Linked DNA regions of Homo sapiens: regions 1, 2, 4, 5, 6 and 7 are each linked to region 3. Evidence: promoter capture Hi-C in 16 types of primary human blood cells and fetal thymus (Javierre and others, 2016). All regions are on one chromosome and are shown on one strand. The core of a region is centred on a gene start or on the middle of the fragment in contact, and the rest is flanking DNA. Distances in the headings are between cores, read along the strand shown. Region 1 overlaps SAP130 (Sin3A associated protein 130). Region 2 overlaps UGGT1 (UDP-glucose glycoprotein glucosyltransferase 1). Region 3 holds the start of PTPN18 (protein tyrosine phosphatase non-receptor type 18). Region 4 overlaps UGGT1 (UDP-glucose glycoprotein glucosyltransferase 1). Region 5 has its middle 10 kb from the start of SAP130. Region 6 overlaps UGGT1 (UDP-glucose glycoprotein glucosyltransferase 1). Region 7 overlaps UGGT1 (UDP-glucose glycoprotein glucosyltransferase 1).

Evidence for each region. Contacts are between HindIII fragments. The CHiCAGO score rates a contact against its expected background, and 5 or more counts as called.
Region 1: a contact is called between a fragment that was not itself captured here and the fragment with the promoter of PTPN18 in region 3, in 1 of 17 cell types (neutrophils). The highest score is 6.1, in neutrophils.
Region 2: a fragment that was not itself captured here is called in contact with the fragment with the promoter of PTPN18 in region 3 in 2 of 17 cell types (monocytes and neutrophils); the score reaches 8.8 in monocytes.
Region 4: a fragment that was not itself captured here is called in contact with the fragment with the promoter of PTPN18 in region 3 in 1 of 17 cell types (monocytes); the score reaches 5.1 in monocytes.
Region 5: a contact is called between a fragment that was not itself captured here and the fragment with the promoter of PTPN18 in region 3, in 1 of 17 cell types (neutrophils). The highest score is 10.4, in neutrophils.
Region 6: a fragment that was not itself captured here is called in contact with the fragment with the promoter of PTPN18 in region 3 in 3 of 17 cell types (M0 macrophages, monocytes and M2 macrophages); the score reaches 7.0 in M0 macrophages.
Region 7: a contact is called between a fragment that was not itself captured here and the fragment with the promoter of PTPN18 in region 3, in 3 of 17 cell types (M0 macrophages, M1 macrophages and neutrophils). The highest score is 7.0, in M0 macrophages.

What each region holds. Positions count from the first base shown.
Region 1 is chr2:128,013,351-128,016,101 of GRCh38, reverse strand. It overlaps SAP130 (Sin3A associated protein 130), which reads left to right. Exons shown (of 21, transcript NM_001330301.2): 5 at 1,188-1,299. Among named protein-coding and RNA genes, the nearest start is that of SAP130, 13 kb to the left of the region's middle. The HindIII fragment of the contact is 1,228 bases long and covers 804-2,031 here.
Region 2 is chr2:128,094,700-128,097,499 of GRCh38, reverse strand. It overlaps UGGT1 (UDP-glucose glycoprotein glucosyltransferase 1), which reads right to left. Exons shown (of 41, transcript NM_020120.4): 2 at 1-71. Among named protein-coding and RNA genes, the nearest start is that of UGGT1, 4.9 kb to the right of the region's middle. The HindIII fragment of the contact is 7,457 bases long and covers 1-2,800 here.
Region 3 is chr2:130,354,640-130,357,339 of GRCh38, reverse strand. PTPN18 (protein tyrosine phosphatase non-receptor type 18) reads right to left here and starts at 1,284. Exons shown (of 15, transcript NM_014369.4): 1 at 1,140-1,284. The coding sequence starts at 1,232. RefSeq lists silencers at 845-894, 1,035-1,704. The HindIII fragment of the contact is 15,291 bases long and covers 1-2,700 here.
Region 4 is chr2:128,190,309-128,193,008 of GRCh38, reverse strand. It overlaps UGGT1 (UDP-glucose glycoprotein glucosyltransferase 1), which reads right to left. Exons shown (of 41, transcript NM_020120.4): 41 at 1-2,700. Among named protein-coding and RNA genes, the nearest start is that of UGGT1, 100 kb to the right of the region's middle. The HindIII fragment of the contact is 4,858 bases long and covers 1-2,700 here.
Region 5 is chr2:128,037,078-128,039,777 of GRCh38, reverse strand. No RefSeq gene overlaps it. Among named protein-coding and RNA genes, the nearest start is that of SAP130, 10 kb to the right of the region's middle. The HindIII fragment of the contact is 2,307 bases long and covers 228-2,534 here.
Region 6 is chr2:128,154,913-128,157,749 of GRCh38, reverse strand. It overlaps UGGT1 (UDP-glucose glycoprotein glucosyltransferase 1), which reads right to left. Exons shown (of 41, transcript NM_020120.4): 20 at 2,163-2,261; 21 at 1,335-1,358; 22 at 404-498. Among named protein-coding and RNA genes, the nearest start is that of UGGT1, 65 kb to the right of the region's middle. The HindIII fragment of the contact is 1,412 bases long and covers 625-2,036 here.
Region 7 is chr2:128,172,130-128,174,840 of GRCh38, reverse strand. UGGT1 (UDP-glucose glycoprotein glucosyltransferase 1) reads right to left here. Exons shown (of 41, transcript NM_020120.4): 29 at 2,079-2,268; 30 at 902-1,060; 31 at 1-68. Among named protein-coding and RNA genes, the nearest start is that of UGGT1, 82 kb to the right of the region's middle. The HindIII fragment of the contact is 3,393 bases long and covers 1-2,711 here.

The DNA of each region.
Region 1 (2,751 bases), core at 168-2,667, 2.3 Mb after region 3:
GAGTCCGGAGTCCGGTTCGTGTTTGGTTTTAGCGTCAAGAACTGCCTTCCGGGGGTAGGCAGTGCTGCTCTGTGGTTTCTCTGAGGAGAGCAGATGTGCATCTCTTGGGATAGGTTACCTCAAGCAGCTCTCTAGTTCCAAACTTTTTTTTTTTTTTTTTTGAGACAGAATCTCACGGTGTCACCCAAGCTGGAGTGTAGTGGTGCAGTCTTGGCTCACAGCAACGTCCACGTCCCGTGTTCGAGCCATTCTCTTGCCTCAGCCTCCCGAGTAGCTAGGATTACAAGCGGGCACCACCACCCCCAGCTAATTTTTTTATTTTAATAGAGACGGGGTTTCACCATGTTGGCCAGGCTGGTCTCCAACTCCTGACCTCAAATGATCTGCCCGCCTCGGCCTCCCAAAGTGCTGGGATTACAGGCATGAGCCACCGCACCCAGCCTTAGTTGCGAACATTTATTCTGAAGTCTTCTGTTTTAAGGTTTTTTTGTGAAATTTTGCAATCCTACTCTGCTGTGTACCTGATTAATTAAATATTTTACATTTTTTACCTGGGGAAAAAAACTAAATCTAAAAACTTTCCCTTCACATTTTCAAGAAAAATTTATATCCCAAAGAGGTGTACTGTGTTTTTTCCTTTTGTCATACTGCTGAGTACTCTCAGAAGTACCAGAACCCTTAGCTGAGAAGCCCTGAACTCTGTGGTTTGGGAGAATGTAAGGGACATTTCAGGGTTGAGCTGAAGAACTGGTAGGGAGCACCTGTTGGATACCAACTGACATTTACTTAGAAACAAAAAAGCTTAAAGAATGGATGGATGCAGTGGTATGTAAAGGAAATAGTGAGAATGGGAAAAAAAATAAGCATTTGGCCAGAACAGGGAAAACAAGTGTGAAAGGTAATATCGCAGATGAGAGTTTCTAAACGTAGATATCGAAGTATATTATCTGTAATTATGTGGGCCTGCAGCAGTTGTGGGGTCCTCATACTTCTCACATGCCTGTTAGCACAGTTCATTGTACGGTATGGCATGTAAAAGTAGCTCAAGCTGAATGTCCTTAGCCCTTTCTCTTGGGATACTCACTATCTAAAAAACAACCTGACCCACATTTGGAGGCAGGTGACTTCCTAGAGGCAATGGCTAAGAGCAAACATGTAAAAATAACGTTCTATCCTCTTTCTTTCAGGGCCATCCCAGTAACCTGCATCACATCATGACTACAAATGTGCAAATGTCTATCATCCGCAGCAATGCTCCTGGGCCCCCTCTTCACATTGGAGCTTCTCATTTACCTCGAGGTAACGACTTGCAAGTTTTGTTCAAACTCTCAAAATGTAGTAGTAGATATACATTTGGTAAAATACGTAACACAGAATGTATCTAGAATCAGCTTGTTAAAGTTGCAGAACAACAGTCTGCAGAACCGTGAACCAAATAAACCTCTTTTATTTAAAAAGAAAAAAAGGCCAGGTGCTGCGGTTCATGTCTATAAACCCAACACTTTGGGAGGCTGAGGTGGTAGGTTCACTTGAGTCCAGGAATTTGAGACCAGCCTGGGCAACATGGCGAAACCCTGTCTCTACAAAAATACAAAAAATTAGCCAGGTGTGGTGGCATGCGTCTGTAGTCCCATCTACTCAGGAGGCTGAGATGGGAGGATGGCACTCAGGAGGCTGAGATGGGAGGATGGCACTCAGGAGGCTGAGATAGGAGGATGGCACTCAGGAGGCTGAGATGGGAGGATGGCACTCAGGAGGCTGAGATGGGAGGATGGCTTGAGCTCGGGAGGCAGAGGTTGAAATGAGTTGAGATTGCGCCGCTGCACTCCAGCCTGGGTGACAGAGCGAGAACCTGTCTCAAGAAAAAGAAAAAAAATCGCAAGACAGTAGAAATAAACTTAGAGCAATCCATGTTTTTAGCATGGTTTAATATGTGCTTATTATAGTTGTATTACAAGTGTGTATATTTATGCAATTAAAGTGTTTAATATGGTCTAAAATTGTCCTATATATTGAGGAACTGCCCAAGCTTTGATAATCTCAACATGGTCTTTATTATTAGACTGCTTATCTGCAACATGGTCTTTATTTTTAATACATAAGTCACAAATATTAATACTGAATATTTTTAAAGTTCAGTGATGATCTTTACTCAGTTTTTTAACTTATGTAACAATAAAATGATGATGATAATTATTTTTTGAGATGGGGCCTCACTGGGTTACCCAGGCTGGTTTCAGATTTCTGGGGCACAAGCGATCTTCCCACTTTAGCCTCCTGAGTGGCTGGGACTACAGGTGTGAGCCACCACATGGCTAAGATTAATTTATTTTTACCCTTAAGTTCTAATAGGTTGTGAGGTAATAAATGAATTTTGACTAGAAATTTTTACCTTTTATTGGAGACTTTACAACAATTGGAGATTGTTGGCAAAATCAAGTTAGCAAACGCAAGACCAGGTTTGCTTGGTTATAGCATAACTCAGCAGTTCTCCAAATGTGGTTCACAGGCCCTTATGGGGGTCTGCAGGGTGAAAAGTGCAGGGTTAGGTTTAAGGTTAAGGTTCATAATGTGTCCCTTTGGCAATGTCGACGTCTGCTCTAATGGAACAAAGACTGGAAGGCAAAGTGTCCGAGCCTCGTCAGAGCTGAGGCAGTGGCATCACACTGCTGTTCCCTGTGTGCTTTACCACTGTGCACACTTGCAGTTAACAGAAACAAAAAACAGCAGCTAGTTTCACTTAAGGTTGTC
Region 2 (2,800 bases), core at 221-2,720, 2.3 Mb after region 3:
GTCGGCCTTTACTGAGGAGAACAGCCACAGAACAGTGAGTACAACCAGAACTCCCATTTTATAGCAAACTCCTAAAAGGAAAAAAAGAAAAGAAGTTTTGCTACAAGGAAATTTTTTTTTTTTTTGAGACGCAGTCTCGCCCTGTCGCCCAGGCTGGAGTGCAGTGGTGCAATCTCGGCTCATGCAACCTCTGCCTCCCAGGTTCAAGCGATTCTCCTGCCTCAGCCTCCCCAGTAGCTGGGATTACAGGCACGCACCACCACACCCTGCTAATTTTGTGTATCTTTAGTAGAGACAGGGTTTCACAATGTTGGCCAGGCTGGTCTCAAACTCCTGACCTCGTGATCTGCCCGCCTCAGCCTCCCAAAGTGTTGGGATTACAGGCATGAGCCACCATGCCTGGCCTGCTACAAGGTAATTTTAACCTCATACTTGGAGACACAAAATAACAATCCTAATAATACTTGGAGACACAAAATAACATAAGTTAGCGAAACAGAAATGCTTCTGACATATAATAGCACTTAATATCTAGCTAGTCCAACAGATATTTGCTGAGTGACTGATATGTAACTGAAGGCACTTAGGTTATTACATTCTTTCCTACAAAGGCTCTGCTTCATTTCCCAAGCAATCTACACCATACAGGGGTATAAAAATCAGTTGGTGGCACACCAGGTTGCACACAACCATATTTTATAAAGGATGAAAGCAAATAAAGCTGAGATAGATGAAAATATAAATGATAGGTATTAAGGGTTGAACTGTGTCCCCCAAAAAAGATATGGAAATCCTATCCCCCGGTACCTCGTAATGTCAACTTATTTGTAAATACAGTCTTTACAGAGGTCATCAGTTAAAACAAGGTTATTAGGTGGGCACTAACCCAATGACTGATGTTATAAAGAGGAGAAATCTGGACAGAGAAAGACAGCACAGAGGGAAAACTATGTAGAGACACAGGAGACCACCAGGTGAAGACAGAGGCACACACTAAAATTATACTGTAAGCTAAGGAATGCCTGAAACTACCAGAAGCTGAAGAGTCAAAGAAAGATTCTTCCTCCAAAGATTTCAGCGGGAACGTGGTCCTGTGAAACCCTGAGTAAGGATTTCTAGCACTGTGAGACAGTAAATATCTATTGTTCTAAGCCACCCAGTTTGTGATACTTTGTTGTGGTAGCCCTAGGAAACTAACATAATGGGTCCCAAATGTAAACTCAGACAGGTTCTGAAATAAAGAAATGTAAAATTTTAGTGGCTTCCCAAGCCAACTGTCCCATCTACAAAATGAGGGATCTAGGGTCACTGGCAAAGTGGATGGCCACAGAATGCAGGCCTCTTGACACCCTCCGCAGCCGCTCCAAGCCTGTCAAGATCCTCTCAGACAGCATCCAGACAGTTTCAGAAAAAGGTCTCCAGCTGCAGATTTCTCTGATTTTCATCTCCAAAGTCCACCTAACAGAACCCTAATCGGACCTCCCCTGAGCTCTACCCATTTGAATGAGAACTAAAAGGGGGTGTGAATATGTGGGAAGCACTAAGCTATCCTTGGGCTTCAGAATGTTAGCTCTGGTAAGGCTCACTTCGGTCTCATCCCAGTTCTTTAATATTGGTTACAAAATCTATCACTGAGGGAGGCTGTCCACATTGGGGACTAGTCAATAGCTGCTTTTTATAAAAAGCATCATTTGTGTTAACATCCTGCTTCATAGAACATACAGTATCTCTGAAGAACGATGGTCAAAAGCAAAATAAATTATAACAAATAGAAAAGTGGCTTTCAGAAGCATTTTAAGTTCAGGCACTGCCAGCTTCTTTGGAAACCAAAAAAAATTAATAAATCAGCCAGGCATGGTGGCATGCACCTATGGTCCCAGCTACTTGGGAGGCTAAGGTGGGAAGATAGCTTGGGCCTAGGAGGTCCATGCTGCATCTGGGCAACAGAGCGGGACAGGAGGAGTTACGGGACAGGAGGAGAGCAGGACAGGAGGAGAGTGGGGGAGGAGGAGGAGGAAGAGGAGGAGGAGGAAGAGGAAAGAAAGAAGAAAGAAGGAGGAAGAGAAGGAGGAGGGGAAGGGGAAGGTAAAGGGGAAGGGGAAGGAGAAGGGGAAGGGGAAGGGGAAGAGGAAGAAGAAGAGGAAGGAGAAGAAGAAGAACATCCCACTTATAAATAAAAACACTCAGAAGTGTTTTTCAAAATCAACGTTTGTAAAAACTGCTATAGAGGCTGCAGAAATGAAAGAATACACACACAAAAATGAAACCTACTGAAATTAGAGATAACCAAACTAGATTTTACACAATGAAACCTGATAGCAGTGATTCCTGGCTGGTTGAGTGAAGAGGATATAGGCCTTTTCTGGAATCTAGTAAAGTTACTGACATTTCCCACAGAGGAGCAAACAAGGACCCAAATTTTATGTACAACTTAAGAATTCTCTTGGGACTGGCCCAGCGCAGTGGCTCACGCCTGTAATCCCAGCACTTTAGGAGGCTGAGGTGGGTGGATCACCTGAGGTCAGGAGTTCAAGACCAGTCTGTCCAATGTGGTGAAACCCCGTCTCTACTAAAAATACAAAAATTAGCCAGGCATAGTGGCAGGTGCCTGTAATCCCAGCTACTCAGGAGGCTGAGGCAGGAGAATCGCTTGAACCCGGGAGGTGGAGGTTTCAGTAAGTCGAGATCGCACCACTGCACTCCAGCCTGGGCGACAGAGAGAGACTCCGTCTCAAAAAAAAAAAAAAAAAAAAAAAAAAAAAAGCATTCTCTTAGGACTAACCATAGACACCCTTTCCCA
Region 3 (2,700 bases), core at 35-2,534:
GCGATTACACTTTAAACACGTCATCAACTGTAATGTACAGTGCCTAGCATTCTGCGTGAGCCTTCCTAATGCTGGGCTTGCACTACCTGTATTGTAACGTTTAGATTTTTTGTTTGGTTTTGTTTTGTTTGAGATGGGATCTCACTCTGTGGCCCAGGCTGGAGTGCAGTGGCACCATCTCAGCTGTGCAGTGGAACCATCTCAGCTCACTGCAACCTCTGCCTCCCAGGTTCAAGCGAGTCCCCTGTCTCTGCTCCCTAGTAGCTGGGATTACAGGCATGCGCCCATGCCCAGTTGATTTTTGTATTTTTAGTAGAGACGGGGTTTCGCTGTGTTGCCCAGGCTGGTCTCGAACTCCTGAGCTCAAGCGATCCTCCCACCTCGGCCTCCCAAAGTGCTGGGATTACAGGTGTGAGCCACCGCACCTGGCCCACGTTTAGAATCTTTATAGGCAGTGACGAACGCCCCTACGAAGTGTGCGCCCAATATGTACTAAGTGCTTTTCACCCACATCATTTAATCCTTAGACCAGTTTGGTCATTCATGTCCCCATTTCACCAAGGGAGAAGCCGAGGTCAGAGGGGCCAGGTAGACCGCCTGGACCACACGCGGATGGCCGGGACGCGGATTCGGGACGGGAAGCGGATTCGGGCCCGGACGCGGATTCGAGCCCGGCGTTCACACCCTCACCACGCCACAGCCTCCGTGTTCCTCTTCGCCCTGCTGCAGCCCCTTCCTTCCTGTGGTCACAGGGGACAGTCAGGTCGCCAGAAGCGGCGGGGCCGGGGCTGTCCAGCGCAGCAGGGCCGCCCGCCCTCCCCTGCGGCGCCCGCCCCACCTGTCCCGCCCGCAGCCAGGTTGTTCCGGGAGCGCGACGAGGACACCGGGAACGAGGGTGTGCACGGTCCGTCCCGGCCTGGCCGTGGACGTCGCGCTCCGGGGCCGGGGGGCAGAGAGTGAAGACGGAGACAGCAAGAGCGACAGAGAAGTGCTGGGGAGAGAAACACGGAGAGACCCCCCGAGGCGGGGAGACACCGGGGACACCGAGACAGAAAGGCAGAGCCCGCCGTGCGCGGAGGACAGGCGTACGCAGGGCCAGGGCCGGGGCGCGCCGCTCGCGGACCCCGTGTGCCACTCACGCTGAACTCGCCGGCGAGGACTGCCCCCTCCCGGCCGCCCCGCGCTTCCAGCCGCTCCAGGAAGCTCCGCGCCGAGTCCAGGCTGCGGCTCATGGCGCCGCGGGCCAGCAAGGTCCAGCCCGGCCGCCGCGCGCGCGGCGAGTGTGGACGCCGCGGGAGGCGGAGGCCGGTGACTGAGTCCCCGCCCTTGCCTCGGCAGCCAATGGAAGCGCGCAGCGGCGGGCAGGGCGCCCCAGCCACCGTGTTCTGAGCCCGCGTAGCCCCACCCCGGGCGCTCGGGCCGCTGTGGCCGGAGCCCTAGGTCCTCGCGGGCTGCCCTGAGCAGAGTCCAGCGCCGGCGCTTCCCCTTTTTTTCGGCTGCCGCGCCCACTGGTGGGGGGGTGGCACGGTCCCAGGTTCGCTCCCTGCCGCTTGGGACCCGCCCTCAGATCGGGATCCGCGCCCAGGGGCCGACCTCCGGGTGCCGGCTCTGGGTGGACGGCCGAGCGGTCTCGCCGGGCCCTCCCGCCCGTCCCCTGGGAGCCAGGCCGCGCGGAGTCCGAGCTGGGGCGGGCAGCAGCCTTGGGTGGAGACGGTCGCCGAGATCAGGCTGCCCCTCGTGCCAGAGGACCCCGGGTCGGGGGCGTCCCGCGCTGTGCGCTCCAGCCGGGCCCAAGGGAGGCCGGGGAGGGGCAGCCACGCCGTGGGAAAGGCCAAGTGGCAGCGGGATCTTCTCTGTGTATTTCCCGAGGAATTTGTGGTTCCTTTTTCCCGGATGCGCTGGGGCACCAGGGTCAGTCCTGTGTGAGCATCTCGACCTGCACAAGCCTGCTGGGAAACAGAACTGAGGCACTGGAAGTGGGTTCTGGGGAACGAAGAGCTTCTCTTTTTTGCCTGCCCTGACACTCCCATCTTCAGAAAGTGTGCAGAGGTCAGAGGAGAGCCGCCGTTCCAGCTTCCGGGATCACCGAGGGGAGGCTGGAGAGAATGGACTGGCACCTGGGTCTCTTCAAGGACAGGCCTAGGTTAGCCCCCTTCTCGCCGAGGTCGGAAGAATTAAGAGGGGTGTCACTGGAAGGGGCGTCAGTGGACACCAGTTTGAGGTCGTTGAGGGGTTGAAAGGTAGCATTGGGGCCTGGATGTGTGCCTGAGTCTCTGAAGGGTCAACAGGGGCATGATGTCAGGTGGTCAATTTAATTCACTAGGGGCTATCAGAGTATTTAAGGGCACACTTTCTTAAAGGTCCCGGTAGGAAGTGGTTTTGGCTTTGCTATCGCTGCCCCAGCTGCTTAACTCAGCTGTGGCAGCATGAAAGCAGACAATATAGTGTGGCTGTGTCCCAAAGAAACCATTTATGGACAAAGAAATCAGAATTTCATGTAATGTTCATGTGTCATGAATTATTCTAGTGTGTGTGTGTGGCCTACAGGCTGTCGTTTGCTGACCTTGGCTGAAGTGATGGAGCGATCAAAGTGGCTCTGTGGGGATCAGCAGCTAGGGCTGTTTGATTTATCGTGGGGTCCGCAGGGGTCACTGTGAGATTCATGTTCATCATTTATCAGTTTCATCTTTGAGCATTCTC
Region 4 (2,700 bases), core at 170-2,669, 2.2 Mb after region 3:
GACGGGGTTTCACCGTGTTGGCCAGGATGGTCTCTATCTCTTGACCTCATAATCCGCCCGCCTCGGCTTCCCAAAGTGCTGGGATTACAGGTGTAAGCCACTGTGCCTGACCGGAAACTGTTTCTTAACATACATCATGCACGTAATCTTCGCTCTCCCAAGAGGCATTCACCCAAGCAGACAGGCAAGCATCTATGTGTTCAATTCGAAATGCAACAATGACAGATGTACAACTTTACCACTCTTAAAGAAACTAACATGCCATCCATTATTCTCCATGTGGGAAACATTCAGTAAACTTCTAAAACCAAACACAGGACTCTGGCATATCCCCACACCCCCAGCAGCAGGCTGTGACAGGCTTTGATCTCAATCAAATGCCACTGTACACAGAACATAAAAACAGGCTCAGGATGCTGCATGTCACTCTGACATATCACATTATTTCATATTACTCTGTCACTTACTCACAAACAAAAGTCTCCACTATGGCATGATTGAGAGAGAAAATAATTCACTTTATATAAATAACAGCTAAGAACAACATACTGTGAACAGTTTCCAGAGTTTGAACATTCAGCACAATCAATTCTTACTTCTTGGGAAAAAAATATCTTACCTATCTTTTCTGTTACAGTATGCCTTCTTGGAGAAAATATTTTAGTGGTAACATCATTTTCTGGGGCATTTGGTTAATTTTGAAAGATGATTATGCCACATGAACCAAAAAAAAAAAAAAAAACTGGCAGGAGGAGGAGGGTCCTAGGCCATTCTGGAAGCAAGCTGGGTTTTGCATTATTCAGAGTCAACTATTAAGCTGACTTATATTAGAATGGCGACAGATAAGAGGCAATGAGTGACACCAGGACATGCACAGCACACAGAGAATATGGTCTACTCTTGTCTTCCCTGCACAGATTAAACATAAGAGGCTTGGTAGAAAGACATGGGGAAAGGTGCTATGGGGGCCAGCATTTGGAAAGCATATATCCCAGTGACTTGAGTATTTGCTATGCAACCTCCTGGACGAGAAACTGGGAAAAGGCACACTTCCGCCCACAGTTGTGGACAGCAGCAGTCACCCGTCTGAATGCTTTCATTCAATGTGAAGATGCAGCTTGAACAAAAGTTTCTTTTTGTTTGTTTGTTTTCTGAGATGGAGTCTCGCTCTGTCACCCAGGCTGGAGTGCAGTGGCACGATCTCAGCTCACTGCAACCTCTGCCTCCTGGGTTCAGGCGATTCTCCTGTCTCTGCCTCCCGAGTAGCTGGGAATAGAGGGTGAGCCACAACACCCGGCTAATTTTTGTATTTTTAGTAGAGACGGGGTTTCACCATATTGGCCAGGCTGGTCTTGAACTCCTGACCTCATGATCCGTCCGCCTCAGCCTCCCAAAGTGCTGGGATTACAGGTGTGAGCCACCACGCCTGGCCGAACAAAAGTTTTTTAATCTTACTGATCCCATCTTTCCAGCTGCTCTGAACAGAGGGGCAGGGCGGGGAAAGTCATGTCACAGACTCTGCCCACAGCAGCCATTCTGAGGTGCCTTTTCAGTCTCTTATCCTCTTTTGAGCTTTCCTCTTCTTAATTTTTTGTTTTGTTTTGTTTTCATTGTACTCATTAATCCCCTCCTCAATTTTTAACAGAATTATAAAAGCAAAGTCAAAAGGTCCTTCAGGATGACTGGGAGGCTTCCTAGGCTAACTTTTGCATTTGAAAATGGAAAAAATAAATTACTTGATATTTGTGATAAGACTAAGATTTCTTAAAAGTCTGCACATCAATATATTACCTGGCTTAGGAGGGTGAGGGCACAGTATCCATCTGCACCCTCTCCTCGTATTTTTTAAAAACAGGCAAAATATGTAAGAAAAGGCTGGTGCACGTTGGAAGACAGAGCGTGCCTGTCTATGCCAGTGCTGCTGTGCCCTGCAGCCTGGCAGATGGAGTCGGATGCTGGGGCCTCATGCCCACTTAGGCCAATAACATACTCAAGACTCTACAGCCCGTTCACCAGCAAAGTATGCCCTGAGGGGCAACACTGGCTGTGGAAGTGAAGACACACAAAGCAGGGACTAAAGGCAAATGGGGCTTCACGATGCAGCGACATGAAGACAGAACTGGTGTGGGCGCCAAAGGCAACCTGCAGGGCTCACATAAAAGGAAAATAGGACAGAAAGCCACGAGTTCCACAAGCAGAATCATTTCTGGTCTTACATCTGAGGGCATTTGTAGAGAAAAGTCCAAGGCAATGTCCCCTGGGTCTGAGAGAAAAATCCTACGCAAAAGAGGGCAGACAATGCGGTGCTCGTCTTGAGGGAGCCTGACCCTGACCCTGACCCTGACGGGCTGGATGCGAGAGGGGCTGAGTATGGCTGTATTCAGTAAGGAAACTGGTAGCAGACTTTTCTAGAAGGTGGAAAGAAAAAGCAAAGACTTTCACAGATACAAAAATTGTTTTCAAAACAATTACCTAGAAAGTTCACTGCGGTTGGGTGGGGAATAAGTGTAATATTTTCATTTCAAATGAGCCATGGTGCTACTAATGGATTATAAAAGAGGATGGCCAGTTCTGGTCTTCCTTCCCTTCCCTTAACCCCCGAACCTTCCTACTCCTGACATTTTCCCTACCCTCACTGCAACCCACCCCCATCCTGGCCCAAAATTAATTTGCCCAGCCACTGCACCAAACCAGCCTTGA
Region 5 (2,700 bases), core at 132-2,631, 2.3 Mb after region 3:
CTGACGGTCCTAGTAGGCCCTGACTGCAGCCAGCCACACCTTTGCAGGGACTCTGGTTGCCGTAAACACACAGCTGGGCTGAAGTGGGCAATGCCGGGCGCAAGAGCCCTCCAGAGTGGTCCCTCAGCCAACCTGTCCCAGCCGCCCAGCTTGCAGCCGAACTTGCCTTTCTTCCTCTTTCCTTGCCAGCTTCACAGTCATGCCGGGATGGGGTAAAAGGACAAGCTTTTATCTACTTTAAACAGTCATGCCACACTGCCAACACAGTTTTCAAAGCATTATAGCCTTCAAAGAGATCCTTTCTTCCTTTTCTAATTTTAAGTTCGAAGGCTTCGCTTTTTGGTGCTCTTTATATGGCTTGGAAAGTGGGGGCCTAGGCTCTTTATAGGTTCTCGCCCCCTGAGTACTGTGTGGTACGGTTGACAGCAGAAGTTTTGCCTTCTGCTTTGTCTGTTGTTTCTTTTCGTCCCTTCTTACGTACACTTTTGAGTCTCCCTAAGAAGTTTACTCATGGGACGGTTTTTCCAATTTTCTATCTTTTGTAATTTCTTTGAAATATCTGTCCAACTGTTAGTAAGAAAATGAAGTTTTAACATTCCCTGCCCAAGAGGATCCTCGAGATCTAGACCTGCATACTTTCTCATTTGTTCTTTTAATCTGTCTAAAAATTCTATAGGCCCTTTATCTTTCCCTTGCTGAATATGAAATGCCTGGGTAAGATTCTAGGTTCAGGGTACTGATTTTTAATTCCTTTTATTATCATTTCCCTAAGGTCTTGCATATTTTCTTGGTGGGCTGCATTGTTATTGTCCAACCAGGGGTCTTGGGAGGGGAATTTTTGATCTGCTGCAGGAACGTTTTGGCCAGGAGGGTGTTCACGTTCCCAGACTACCATAGCAGCTCTACGAATGATGCTTCTTTCTTCTCCTGAGAAGAAGTTGCCTAGGATGGACATTAGCTCAGCCTAAGTATGTAACTGTGGTCCTAGAAAGTGGTCAATTTGGTTTGCTACCCCGTAAGGGTTGTCTAATAGTGGCTTAAGCTCTCTTTTTAGGTTTTGTACTTCTGAGCTGGTTAAAGGAGCATTTACAAAGCCAATGCCTCCTCCTCCTAGGGGCACCTCCCTCAAGGGGAAGAGAGCTGGAGCTGATTCCCCTAAGGCAGAGGGGAAGGGAAAGTTTGGGGAAGTTTTGAATATCTTTTTTACATTTCTCTATTTCACGTTGAAGTCCCTTTAGGGAAGGGTACTTAGGCTGGTAGTGATTGGGCTCTTGGGATGATTCCCAAGAGGCAGGGTTATAAGGAGGGGGAACAACGGGGGTAGGAGAAGGGTCTGGGACAGCAGCTGCTTGAGGGGGAGGAAAGTTAGGAGTGTTTGGTGGGGGAAGGTGATTTAGCAGGTCCGAGGTGTAGATTGCTTGGGGTTAAGAGTTTCAGTTTCCTTAGGGGAAACATTCTCTGGCTTACGCTTATCTTTTAGAGTTTTGGGGGGTAGAGAAGAACAGGTCCTTGTCACCAAAACAAGGCATAATCTATCTCTTCTTGGGAAACAAGACTCTTGATATTAACATGTTCTATTAGAAGCTGACAAATCCAGTACTCATTTGACCCAAATTTTGTCCACAAAACTGAGGGTTTGAGGATTGGTTCCTGGGTCCAAATAAAACTATTTTATCATTCGTTGCTTTATCTTATGCTTAGTCCTTTATTATCTTTCAAATACTTTAACATGAGACCTAAGGGACTATCAAGGGGAATATCATTGCTGTTAGGTTTATCCTTTTTACTTCCTGTCTTACTTGGGGTATTTCCAATCTTGATGGTTTTGGGGTGAACCTTAACTTCCCCTACTGGAAATTTTTTTGCCTTCCCTAATACTAGAGGTTTGTGTGAGGCTCAGTGCCCCCTACTGGAGATTTCTCACCTTTCCTTTCTTCTAGAGGCTCAATGCCTCGTATTAGGGATTTCTTGCCTTCCTTTTCTCTAGAGGCTCAACCCTCCCTGGTGGGGGCTTCTTGCACTCTTTTCCTTTCATTTCATCCTCTCTGGCCACTTCCCCAAAGGGAACATCGGGTCCCTCTTAACGTTGGCGAATCAGTATAAACCCCTGATGGGACCCTCGAAAGGCCGCCATATGAGGTGACCATGGAACCACAGATTGAACTCAACTCACTCTGCACGCTAGTAGTGCTTATTCACACACTTACAGCTTTCAACCTCCAAGATCTCCCAACAATCAAGGAAATACGTTGTCAACCCAGTAATGTTTCTTACCTTGGTCTGTGCACAGAGTTACCTGGTTGCCATGGTATATGATGATCTTTTTCTTTTTTTTTCCCAAGTTGTTGGTCTGTTTTTTCCTGCATTGCTGAGAGTCCAGGTTTATTCGTCACACCAGGTGGGTCTTGATTCCTTACCCCTGAGTCCACTGCAATGAGGCAGCAGGGCACACCTCCTCACAGGAGAGGACTGGACCCTTCCCCAGAGGAGAATGGGAATCCTGGACGAACCCCCAAATTTGTTAGAAACAAGCTTCAGTGCTGCAAAAGAAATAGCACTCAAACAGAAATTTTCTCAGCAAGGCAAATTTACTTCCGCAGAAGTGTGCAGCTTGCGCCAGTCACGATTGCAAGAGCACACTGAGCAGGGTGGGGCAGGGGTTTTTATCCCTAATGCAATTGGTTCCTACTGCTGTGTTCT
Region 6 (2,837 bases), core at 81-2,580, 2.2 Mb after region 3:
CTAAACACACACACTACCATTCCTGTGTGCTACTGCCCCCATGTCCAGACCTCTGTCGTGGTAAGGACCCCATCTCCCCGATACAGTACACAACACAATTGTTGGAGCAACTCTGCTCCAAGAACATGAACAGGTATGCAATAAAACTTGTCTATGATGAGGATCTCGCTATTTATTTTTTTCTCTATAAGAATCTATCCCGTTCAACAAAGCCTGGATACTGTAGTCTTAGATCTCTTTTCTTGAGAGCTGGCAGATCTCTAGAGATACAATTCTCCGTTCCCTCGAGCATTAAGAAAGCAGGACTCCCAACTCCCACTGAACAATCCTAGCCGCACAGCGAAGCCCATGAAGACAACTACAGCCACAAACAAAAATATAAAATGAAGTCATAGATACTTGCCTGATGTTTGATGGCATCATACAGTAACTGCCGTCCAGAAGGGCTATCAAAATCCCCAACAATCCAAAAAGTTACTGGCCTAATAAAAGAATCATCTGTAGAAAAACAAAAACAGCTAATTGAGTCAGAGGAGAGAAGCACATTCTGTGTTTCAACATTCTGAAAATGAAATTGACCAAATAATTTGTAAGAACCATGCAAAAAGAAGAAAATGACAAGCTTAATAAAGATAGAAGAAAAAGTCGTAAACCTTTACTATAGGAAAGCAGGGGAATCTTCCACAGAGTTTAGTTACAGACTAGGAACATGCACTGATTAATTCTACTGATTAATGCACTGGTCTGGGCATCTGTTAGCATGTAAAATGAAAAACAGCCTTTGAACATGTGGGTAACATATTGTCATTTTTAATCATACTAATTTGTAATTTTCTGAAACTAATTCTTTACAAATGTTTATACAAAATTTATCTACATTGGCCGGGTGCAGTGGCTCACGCCTGTAATCCTAGCACTTTGGGAGGTTCAGGAGGGTGGATCACTTGAGGTCAGGAGTTCAAAACCAGCCTGGCCAAAATGGTAAAACCCCATCCCTACTAAAAATACAAAAAAGTTAGCTGGACGTGGTGGCGGGTGCCTGTAATCCCAGCTACTTGGAAGGCTGAGGCAGGAGAATCACTTGAAATCACTTGAACCCAGAAGGCGGAGCTTGCAGTGAGCCGAGATCATGGTACTGCACTCCAGCCTGGGTGACAGAATGAGACTCTGTCTCAAAAAAAAAAAAAAAAAAAATTATCTACATTGATATAGCTTCCTGTTACCCACAGATTCCGGAAACAGTACAATTAAGTGTTGATAAATTCTAAATTACAATGGTCACTGAAACCAAAGAAGAAAATTAAGAAATAGAACATTCTGAAGTTTTAAGTTACCATAGATTTCCTTGGAGGACATTCCTGAACAAAGGTAAAGAGAAAAGAGTAGAAAAAAAGTATCATTTCTGGAATGAATGCCTACTGTAAAAATTGAAAGTCTAAACAATGGCTAACACGGTCTATGGTTCTTCCTGCTGCTTAGTCCTGTCGGTGTCATGGCGCTGTCCCAGTACCCTAAGAAACAGTTTCTTTAAAGAACCAAATGGAGTAATTGCTTGTACTTTACATACAGCTGAGAAACCAGAACTTCTCTTGGGGAGAGACCACAGCGGGGATTTAAAAAGGCGGTAAAAATAGCTGACTTAAAATAACAGCCAGTGCTTTTCTGAAGCACTGACCCGAGGGCGACAGAATCTGTCCGCCACTACAGGGCGTCATTTTACACAATCTTAGCCTAAATAAATACCTCTGCATAAAATCAGCTTCAAAGATTATACAAGGCTTTCTAAAACCAACTTTATCTTATAAACCCCAAAATAATATTAACCCTGTACAGTCATTTTTAATTCATTAACCCATTTTTACATCACAAATGTTTTTCCATTTGAACTATGAAATATTTTTCCTTTTGACTTTAGTCAAAAGGTAAAACAGGTAATACAAAATTTATGAAGACATCTGAATTTTTAAACAAATATATACTTTCAACAAATATACAAAGAATTAAACTTTAAATAGATATGTTCTAGACTCAAAGCTTTATAAGAAATAAGAAAAATTATGAAGTCTCTTTCCCTTTTCTCTCTTAATTTGCACATTAAGATGAATATGCAAATACTTTCAAAAAAATGTTGAATGCAAGATAATAAGCCTCAAATGGATTACCTTTCTTTGTCAGATAGTTCATACTATTGGCTACAGCAGCAGTCTTGCCTTGGGAATCCAAGATAGTAAATCTAGCATAATCATCCACAAAGAAGTTATCTGGGAGAAAAAATGAAATACGTATATATTAGTTCCAGTTCAATCTATTCTTAATATTCAACTGATAACCTGACTTGATCATAATATAAGATTTATAGAAATGCGTGAGTGAAGTATATTAAGTTCCATGTTTACTGAACAACTTCACAACATGGCCCCTATCCCTACTGAAGTCACACATCAAAGACACAAGGTTGATGGAAACATACATATCTCACACAGCTATCATATAAGTATGTGTCAGTTTAATGGCTGAATTCATCCTATTCCCATTCCTGTCACTTGTCAACTGGAGGACAATCTCAAAGAGATCCCCTTAACTCATTTCTCCCTTCCCTAGTCCAACCAGTGGAGTAAGCTCTTCCTGTTCCTACAGAGGAAGCAGGGGTAAAAGAGAAAATACGTAAGAAAACTGATTTTTATTTTTCAGGTCTAACAAAATATCACCTTTTAAACCCTTAACAGAAATAAAAGGTCATTTTCACTCTTTTTGCATATGTCCCTTCTCCAATTAGTGTCAAAGGGCAATCCTCATTACTCATTTTCCCTCAAATTATTATTCCTAGAATTCCAGTT
Region 7 (2,711 bases), core at 24-2,523, 2.2 Mb after region 3:
TCTTCAGAGCGTCCCTTCCTAAGTCTGAGGATCCAAGCTCCTGGGTTGGCTTTCAGCTGAAAGTAGCCCTAGGACAAGAAGAAAAGTCCAGTTAGCTCTCTTCAAAACACCAAAATGTTATTTCTGAGGAACAGTTACTTCTATTTCTGAAATATCAATCAACTATAATGTGAATAACACAGTAAACAAATCAATGCAACTCTTAAAAAACCAAAACTACACATTAAAAACTCTAGCACAGACCAGGTGCGGTGGCTCACGCCTGTAATCCCAGCACTTCGGGAGACCACGGCAGGTGGATCAACTGAGGTGAGGAGTTCGAGACCAGCCTGGCTAACATGGTGAAACCCCATCTCTACTAAAAAAGGACAAAAATTAGCCGGGCATGGTGGTGGGTGCCCGTAATCCCAGCTACTCAGGAGGCTGGGGCAGGAGAATTGCTTGAACCTGGGAGGCGGAGGTTGCAGTGAGCTGAGATCACACCACTGCACTCCAGCCTGGGCAGGAGTCTCAAAAAAAAAAAAAAAAAAACTAGTACAATAAAGGCCAGTCACACCAATAAATCATCTGCTCTTTAGCTGTGCTTCAGGGAAGAATCAACGTGTGATGCATGAATAAGTGTTGCACTTCCAAAGAAAAGAAAAAGGCTGTCAGCTCATGAGCAATCTATTTTCAGGGGGCCAATTCAGTTATAGCTGAGTATTCCAGCATGTTTTTTCTTTTGACATGTAATTCTAACCTACAAATTTAGCTGAACTAATGATTTCTATATTGACCAAATTCAGCCCATAATGAATTTTAATCTCACTCTATGGTTAAGAATGCTAATTGCTCCATCATAAATTATAGTGCCCAAATTAACGTAACTACAATATCACTATCTGATGAACAGATTATTTACCAGATTGGCCATAACAATGGTGTCCACAATGACCGGGTTGGCTGAAGTTCCTAAGGTAAACTGTAGTCCCCGTGGAGGCTGGCCTGTGGTGATGTCGTAGCAATGACCTTCCAGTAACAGGTATTCCAGCTCATACTCAGCAGCCACTACACTGTCCACCTGCAAGCCAAAATCCAATCACTTGAATGCACTCAGAGACAACATGAATAAATCTGAAATGCATTATGCAAAGTAAAGGAAGCAGACAAAAAGGACTTACATAATATATGATCATATTTTAAGAAATTCAAGAAAAGACAAAAGTATAATGACAGAAAGCAGATCAGTTGTTGCCTGAAACCAGGCGAGAGGAGGCTACTGTCTGCAAAGGGGTATAAAAGAACTTTTTGGGGTAATGGAAATGTTCTGCATCGTGGCTATAGTGGTGGTTAATGACTGTATACAATTATAAAAACTAGGTTGGAAAGAGAAAGGAGAAAAAAACAATAAGGACGTTATTCTAAAAATACGAACGAGGATAAGATACTAAATGTTGAAAAAAATTAAAGACCTAAATGCAAAGACATCCTGTACTCACGTATCAGTAGAAAAACTTGCACACAACATTCATAGCAGCATTATTCATAACAACCAAAAAGTGAAAACAACTCAAATGTCCATTCGTGAAAGGATAAATGAAACGTGATATGTCCATAAATAAAATATTATCTGGCAAGTTAAAAAGAGTGAAGCGTCGATACATACTACAGCATGGATGGATCTTGAAAACAATTTGTTATGTGAAAGAAGCCAGTTACAGAAGACCACATTTGATTCTATTTAGACAAAATGTCAGAATAGGCAAATCCATAGAGATACAAAGTAGACCAGCAGTTGCCAGGGGCTGGGGAAATGAAGAGTGACTGCTAATGAGTATGGGGCTTTCACTGGGGATGCTGAAAACATCCTACAATTACATAGTGGTGATGGCTGCACAACTCCGTGAAGATACTAAAACCTCTCAACTGTACACGTTAATGGGGAGAATTTTATGGTATATGAGTTCCATGTGAATAAAGCTGTTGTTTAAAAAAATATCATACCTGAACACTGATGTCTCAGAGGCCCACCTAGACTATGATTCAATCTGCTGTATTATACATGATTAGGTATTTGGAAGCAATAGATATGGTCTTACCTCTTCTAAATAAATATTATCAAGATCATATGGTGTTCTGACAGATTCTACCATCCAGCTCTCAGGTGTGTTCAAATTCAGAGTGAACAGTGGAGACTGAGGCATATCCAAAAATTTTGCGATTGGACCCTTAGCAAAACTATTGTCTGAAGTGAAAGAAATCTCTGGTTCTAAGACATAACGGTAAAAGCTGAAATTGAAAAGGAAAGTGTTAGATAATTTTCGATGTGACAACAGGACTTGAGTGCACAGCCCTTACACAGGTAACAACTGGTTAAAACAAATTAGATTTGGAGGAGTACCCTTCCAGATTGGGAAAAGTGTTTCCAAAACCATCTTTGACCTTATGATGCCTCCTTGTGGTTGCTGCAGATGCAAGAAAAGGCAAACAAGGACAGCACTGAGGAGGAGTGCTCAGTGGTGGCCTGTGGTGATGTCGTAGCAATGACCTTCTAGTAACAGGTACTCTAGCTCATACTCAGCAGCCACTATACTGTCCACCTGCAAGCCAAAATCCAATCACTTGAACGGAGGCCACTCGTTCACATGGATGGCTGTCAGGGTCACAGTTAGGTCCTGGGCATTTTCCTCCCTTCAAGGAGGACTCATTTTTCTCTTTAAAACCAATTCCTA